Regions from separate parts of the Homo sapiens genome. Here region 2 is linked to region 1. Evidence: promoter capture Hi-C in 16 types of primary human blood cells and fetal thymus (Javierre and others, 2016). All regions are on one chromosome and are shown on one strand. The core of a region is centred on a gene start or on the middle of the fragment in contact, and the rest is flanking DNA. Distances in the headings are between cores, read along the strand shown. Region 1 holds the start of CEP295 (centrosomal protein 295). Region 2 holds the start of CCDC82 (coiled-coil domain containing 82).

Region 1 (3,877 bases), core at 529-3,028:
CTTCCTGTACCTTCCTTCCTCCTACTCCATCCCTTTAAGTTTTGGTGTTCCTCGGAGTTTGGTTCTTTGCTCATTGCTCTTCTCACTCTGCAAATTCTCCCTAAGTGATCTCATCCATTCCGCTAGCGTTTGTTATTACTCATGTAACAAGGAAATCCCTTTATGCTTAGCCTAGTTCTTTCTGTGGGCTATCTACCGATGTATTCATCTGCTTACAGTACATCACTGGATGTTCTACAGGCACATGAAGTTCAATATACACAGAGCTTGGCTCATCACCCTACCCACTTAACTGCCATTTCTGATTTCTCCCTTTACAATCAAGAATCAACACTGCTACCCAAGCTAGTGGCCTATGAAATCAACTTCACTTTCCCTTTTCTCTCAATCTCACATGCAATTGTTTGTCAAGTACTGCTAATTTTGTGTCCTAAGTTTCTGAAATGCATCCCTTTGTCTAGATATCTCATAAACAGCTCAAATTCAAAATATTCAAAGCTTAACTTATTACTTCTCCCTCCTGGTTCTCTTCATGTGTGTTCCAGGAGGATGTTATCACTATCTACCCAGGTGCTAGGTATCTGGGACTTGGGCATCACCCTTGTTTTCTCCTCTTGTGCCTCCCATAACCAGGTAACCACCAATTCCTGATGTTTGGCTTCCTATTCAATCTACTCACCTCTCTCCATTCTCATTGCTATTATCTTTCACTTTCTGTAGTAGTATACGGCCTTCTGTCTTCACTCTCTCTGACCTTTTCCCCACTGTGCAGCCAGATCTGATCGTGTCAGCAACTTCCCATCCCCACCCCCCATTTTTAATCCTTTGATTCCTGATGTTTAACCCCCATGACCCAGACTGCAAAATCTAGTATAGGCATCATAATCCATCCAGAGTAACATAATGTACTCGGCACATAACAGATACTCAATAGGTATTAACCTGTGCTCACCGCCTGATTATTGGTTATTTACAGCAGATAAATCCGTGAGGTGCTCTCCGTGCGCTGTACCTCTGGAGGCACAGGGTAACATACGGCTCATTGTTGTTATGAGCTGGAGGCCTTAAATGAAAGCTATAAGACGTTAACTGCGCATAATAGTACCAATGAATTCCGTAGTCAGTACAGAAAAGGATGCATATCCCAAGATATCTTCATGATGGGGCCTTAAAACAAAAGTCACCCTCATGGCTCTGCACTTTTTTTTTTTTTTTTTAGACAGGCTTTGGCTCTGTCGCCCAGGCTGGAGTGCAGTACTGGCGGGATCTCGGCTCACTGCAACCTCCACCTCCTGGGTTCAAGCGATTCTCCTGCCTCAGCCTCCCGAGTAGCTGGGATTACAGGCGCCCACCACCACGCACGGCTAATTTTTGCTGTTGTCGTATTTTTTGTAAAGATGAGGTTTCACCATGTTTTTAAAAGGACTTGGTCTTGAACTCATAACCAAAAATACATAACCTCGAACTCTTGGGCTCAAGTGATCCTCCCGCCTTGGCCTCCCAAAGTGCTGGGATTACAGGCGCGAGCCACCGAGCGCGGCCCATACGGGAAAACGTCAAAGCCTGACAGGTGTGACAAATAATGGGCCCCTAGGCAGGCTGGGGCTGGCGCGTGCCTGTGCGCGTGCGCGGGGCGCGGGGTTTTTAACACCGCGCAGCCTTCCCGGCGGCCCCCGAGGAAGGCGGGACAGGGCCTATTCCCGCGGTTTGGTCCGGCCATTGGCGGGCGGTTTGAATGACGGAAGTGACGGCGGCTCGGCGATGGCTCTCCCGCAGGCGCAGAAACGGCTGCTGGGCAGCTGATGGGCAGGAGCTTACCAGGCTGGCTTGCTCTGAGCTGCGGTTACTGTGTCCAGGCCCCGGGTTCTCAGGTGAGTCAGGGATGCACTGGCTTCCCAGTCGCCCCGTAGGAGCATGACTCCCCGAGGCCCAAGAGCTGGGATTGTATTCCGGAGGAATGGGATCCCAGGAAGGCGCCTTGTTGCGAACGCAGGTACGGCTCGCGTTTCTCAGGCTCCGCAGGCCGTGGGCCCTGCCCGCGGTCGGGCTGGCGGCTGTAAGGAGTGTCCGGACCAGACCCGGTAACTCAGTGCGAGAGGCTTTGCGCGCTCTCCTGGGGTCGGGTCGCGCGAGCTTCCCACGCAGCCTCCCCTGTCGCGGAGCTTCCGTGTCGGGGGAGGGGCGCTTCCCCCAGATCACCCGCGGACATGGCCTGCCACCTGGTAGCTGTTAAAAGAGCCTTGCCTGGATCGTTTCATGCAAAGAGCACGCTCTCTTTTGGTGTCTGCCACCTTAATCTCACAGTTATTCAATCCTGTCACAAACTCAACTTTTAAAACAATGGTGAACTTTTGAGTCCTTAATACTTAGAGTGTATTTGAAGACTTCACGCTAAGTCACATAGACGTCAGAACAAACCTTTTGGGGTAGATATTATTATTCCCTTTATACAGTTTAAGAAAACGAAACCAAAGTGACTTCAGTGACTTGGCCAGTATCTTCCTGCTAATAAGTGGCAGTGTTGGGTCTTGAACCCAGATCTTCCAAGTTTAGTGTTAATTTTGTGATTACTATGTACCAGGAGCCATTTAATCCTCAGGACGAAATCTTGCAAGATAAGTAGTATAATCTTCAATATTGGATAGTAATAAAATGTAGAATTTAAAAATCCATATTACTAAGAATAAATAATTAATAAACAAGTAAATGGGGCAGCAGGGAAAACTTCCTTACAGCAGGATTCCGATTGATAATTGTAGAAGGAATAATGGAAATAGAAAATACTATTTGGTAAACACCACAGTAGTTGTTTCAGACAACAGTCATCAATGGATACTAACGTCAATGGGCAAAAGTATGATGAAAAGCATATTTCTGTAGCCTCTACTCTGTCTTCATGAGATATTTATAAAGGAAAAGTAGTAACTACAGAGGAGAAACCTGGTGGACATCATCTTAACCAAGTGACCAAAATTCAGCATCATTTACCTCTTGATAACAATGCACTGAAAAGGTGCCTAATCAATTCTGTGGTGTTCTTGCCAAAAATACATAACCTCAGTTTAATCACATAAGATTAGACAAATCTAAATGGAGGGACATTCAACAAAGTACTTGGCCAGTATTTTCAAAAATGACAGGGTCTTGAAAAGACAGACTGAGAAACTGTCCCAGATTAAGGGGGACATGACAACTTTGACATGAGAATGTAACTCACATATCTTAATCTCCTGCATTCTGAAATCTCCATTTGCACTGAGGCCATGCTTCCCATGGGCTGCTCCTAGCCACTGACAGTGGCAGGCCTGTTCCTGAGAATCTCCCCACGGGTTCTTGCTGAACATTTCTTATACTGCATGGCTGTCTAAGAGGGGTCTACCCATTGTTACTTCCCTCCATTCAGTGTTAGACTTACACTGAAGTCTGAGGCGCTTGTAACTTTTATCAGCTCCCTCCCATTTTCCCTCACACACGCATTTCTCCTAATAAAATATTTGCAGGTTTACTCCCATCTTAGCGTCTGCTTTTTAGATGACACACAGTTACACAGCAACAAATGCAATGTGTTATATCCTTGGATTGGCTTCTGGTCCAGAAAATAGACATTAGTGTGATAATTGACAAAAATTGAATACTGCCTGTAGATTAGTAAAAAATATTGTGTCAGTGTTAATATTCAGATTTTGATCATTGTACCATGGTTATGTACAAGACGTTGACATTTGGAGAAGCTGGGGAAAGGGCAAATGGGAATTCTAAGCCTGAAATTTCCAAATAAAAAGTTTAAAAAATTTAAAAATTATACACAAGAAGAAACAGTTATTCTATCGCATTTTAGGAGCTTAAAAATAATAAATGTTTATATGTTTTTCAATAA
Region 2 (3,877 bases), core at 1-2,500, 2.7 Mb after region 1:
CTCAAGAAAAGATTCATTCTAGAAATCACCTACTTGCTGTATAAACAATGCAGGTGGTAGTTAACACTTTACAGATTTGAAAGGCAGTGGAACCCCAGGTCATTATTTGAAATTCTACCAGGAGGGATCCATTCTTGGGTGTAAAACATCACTCCTCTTCGATGTTTTCTTTTATATGGCAGTTTGGAGAGCAAAGATTAATAAGCCGAAAAATAATTATTGAATATCTACCAAAATGCAAGCACCTGCTAGGAACTGTGCTGCCACCATTTCAAATAAACATGGTCTCTGCTCCCAAGGAGCTCACAATCTGATGAAATTACTAGGGACACCAAAAACAAGCCAGCATAATACACGATTTGAGGGCTACAGTGTATGATTAAGATCAAGTTCTTATCACACTGCTATGAATAAATTTATCATAGTTCTTCTATTGGCAGGAAAACAAGACAGAACATGACAGAAATAGGATATAAGAAAATAAACATAAAGAGAGGAAAGCCTATTTCCCCCACTTAGAATCACAGTCCAACAGTCCACAATTTCGCAAAGTGGATCCTGCCAGCATGGTATCCGGGATAACTATATTATTCATTAAAATCCGTTAACAATGAAGGTTAATGCAGCAGGAATGAGTGGTAGACAGTGGAATAGATCCTCTCAGGAATTAACACCCGGAAGGGTGACTTTCATGATTACAAACCTCTTTGGCGGGACGCAGGAACCCAGCGCCCGCTAGCCCACTAGTCCGTCACTCTGCCTCCAGGAGGGAGGGGCACAGTAGCTAGGAAACCGGACCCTCAGGCCAAGCTTCGCGATGACGCGCGCAGGACGACGGAAACCCCCAGACCCCAAAAGAGCTCTGCACCGAGAAAACAATTACAAGGGTCTGGAAAGGCCAGAAACCCGAGAAATCACCAACCGAGCTCCCTACATCAGTTCCAAGCACCTCCCCAAGGCGGAAATAACGGGCACCGCGCCCACTGCAGCTCAGCTGAGGAGGGTTAGAGGCGCAAAGGGCTGAGGGGCGTTCTCCGGCCCACCCAAAGAGCGCCCGCGGGAATTTTTCTCTTAGTCCGCGAGGAGGCACGGCTTCCCCCGCCCCTCTCATAAACCATTAGCACCGGGAGCGCGAGCGAGTCCCAGCCGGGAGACAGCCCCGCACCGCCCTCGCGCTCTCACCTTTCAAAGCGCCTCCACCTCTGCCTCCGCCTCCGCCCCTGCCCCGGCAACCAGCTCAGGACAAGCGATGCTCCTCCCCCCCTTCCGGGGACCAAGGGAAGTCCCGCCTCTGGGTGGGGCGAGGGGTGGGGCCAGGCGGCGGGAGGGATCATCTTCCGGGAGCGTGGCTAGGGGCGGAGCGACTGCCGCGCGATAGTCAGGGAGCTGTGCGGGTCCTGGTTGCAAGAGAGGTGGGGAGAGGGGCCTGGCGGGTTTTGAGGGACTGGGAGGACTGTCCCGGCTAAAGCTGGCGCGGGAAACTGGGGCTGCGCGGCGGGAGGGCCCTGCTGCTGGGGAAGGAATCTAATATATCCGTTCCCCTGAGGAAGGGTGCCAGTCCTTGACTCCTAGGCTCTTCGGCTCTCTGTCGTAACTTTGGGGTGTGGCAGGGGTTAGTGACGCGCGGTTACCCGGGATCTGGACGTGCAGGAGGTTCGTGGCCACAATGGGGGTATAGTCTTTCTCACGGCTGCTGGGGTAATAAAACACATGCTTTTAATCCGGATTATCCGCGGTGACATGGGGCCTCCGCTACTGCCCGTATAAGTTAAAGAAAGGCCTGTTCTCTCAAACTTCCTCCTCTTTCACCTTCTTCTGCAGTCTATTTGCCAGCCAACCCCAGCCCGGGAGGGGATCAGGGCCACCAGGTTGCTGGTAAGGATGAAAGACTGAGTGTGTTAAGACTGTTGAAGTGAGCCTGTGTAAGAGAAGGAAGGATTTTGTGGATTGCTACATTGTGAGTGTGGGGTGAGTCCCAGAACCTCGCTATGTCAGGGAAACGGAAGCGTGTGGTGTTGACTATTAAAGATAAGCTTGATATAATAAAGAAACTTGAAGACGGAGGTTCTTCCAAACAACTGGCAGTGATTTATGGAATTGGTGAAACAACAGTTCGGGATATAAGAAAAAATAAGGAAAAGATTATAACTTATGCAAGCAGTTCTGATTCCACAAGTCTTTTGGCCAAGAGGAAATCTATGAAGCCATCCATGTATGAGGAATTGGACAGGGCAATGCTGGAATGGTTCAACCAGCAAAGAGCAAAAGGGAATCCCATATCTGGACCAATTTGTGCAAAAAGGGCAGAGTTCTTCTTTTATGCTTTGGGAATGGATGGTGATTTTAACCCCTCTGCCGGTTGGCTAACTCGTTTTAAGCAGCGGCACAGCATTAGAGAGATTAACATTAGAAATGAAAGATTAAATGGAGATGAGACTGCGGTGGAAGATTTTTGTAATAACTTTCGAGATTTTATTGAACGAGAGAATTTACAGCCTGAACAAATCTACAATGCAGATGAAACTGGACTCTTTTGGAAGTGCTTGCCTTCTAGGATTTCAGTAATCAAAGGTAAATGCACTGTCCCTGGGCACAAATCAATTGAAGAAAGAGTCACAATCATGTGTTGTGCCAATGCAACAGGTTTACACAAACTTAAACTTTGTGTTGTGGGGAAAGCAAAGAAACCTCGCTCCTTTAAATCAACTGACACCTTAAACCTGCCAGTCTCTTATTTCAGCCAAAAAGGTGCATGGATGGATCTTTCCATTTTCCGACAATGGTTTGATAAAATTTTTGTGCCGCAAGTTCGAGAGTATTTAAGATCTAAAGGCTTGCAGGAAAAGGCTGTGCTCTTGTTGGATAATTCACCAACACATCCAAATGAAAATGTCCTAAGGTCAGATGATGGCCAAATATTTGCTAAATATTTACCACCTAATGTGGCCTCATTGATTCAGCCTTCAGATCAGGGAGTCATAGCAACGATGAAGAGAAATTATCGTGCAGGTCTTCTCCAGAACAACTTGGAAGAAGGTAATGACCTGAAATCATTCTGGAAGAAGCTAACTCTGTTGGATGCACTTTATGAAATAGCAATGGCATGGAACTTAGTAAAACCAGTTACCATTAGCAGAGCATGGAAGAAGATTCTCCCTATGGTAGAGGAGAAAGAGAGCCTGGACTTTGATGTTGAAGATATTTCTGTGGCTACTGTGGCTGCCATTTTACAACACACCAAAGGATTGGAAAATGTGACTACTGAGAACCTTGAAAAATGGCTTGAAGTAGACAGTACTGAACCAGGCTATGAAGTGTTAACTGATAGCGAAATCATCAGAAGAGCACAAGGCCAGGCAGATGAATCCAGTGAAAATGAGGAGGAGGAAATAGAACTAATTCCAGAGAAACATATTAATCATGCAGCTGCCCTCCAGTGGACTGAAAATTTATTGGATTATCTAGAACAACAAGGTGATATGATTCTACCTGATAGACTGGTAATACGTAAACTTCGAGCCACCATCAGAAATAAACAGAAGATGACAAAGTCAAGTCAATAATGTCATTTCAATTTTATTGTTCTGCTCATTGTGTTTGTGACAAACTCTTTGCAATATGGCTTAATTTTCTTTGTGTTCTGAATTCTCAGACTTGGTCCTGTGAAATACAGGCACAAAATGTATCTGAAGTGGTTTGAGGATTATGTGTTTTCATCATCTGTGTCTTTTGTCCTTTTATTTGTACAGATAATCAGAAGATGATACTGAATAGATATAAATTACATGTACACATGTATTCACTTTTTAGAATCTGCAATTATACCTTCTGTAACAGTGGCATTCCCTTAATTTTCTAGTGAAAGTTAGAGATAACT

The links. Contacts are between HindIII fragments. The CHiCAGO score rates a contact against its expected background, and 5 or more counts as called.
Region 2: a contact is called between the fragment with the promoter of CCDC82 here and the fragment with the promoter of CEP295 in region 1, in 3 of 17 cell types (total CD8 T cells, total B cells and fetal thymus). The highest score is 7.9, in total CD8 T cells.

The regions. Positions count from the first base shown.
Region 1 is chr11:93,659,904-93,663,780 of GRCh38, forward strand. CEP295 (centrosomal protein 295) reads left to right here and starts at 1,779. Exons shown (of 30, transcript NM_033395.2): 1 at 1,779-1,871. RefSeq lists a silencer at 1,543-1,612 and an enhancer at 1,773-1,902. The HindIII fragment of the contact is 3,556 bases long and covers 497-3,877 here.
Region 2 is chr11:96,388,662-96,392,538 of GRCh38, forward strand. CCDC82 (coiled-coil domain containing 82) reads right to left here and starts at 1,251. Exons shown (of 10, transcript NM_024725.4): 1 at 1,183-1,251. It overlaps JRKL (JRK like), which reads left to right and starts at 1,352. Exons shown (of 2, transcript NM_001261833.2): 1 at 1,352-1,412; 2 at 1,822-3,877. The coding sequence starts at 1,989. The coding sequence ends at 3,563. RefSeq lists a silencer at 1,165-1,424. The HindIII fragment of the contact is 1,223 bases long and covers 809-2,031 here.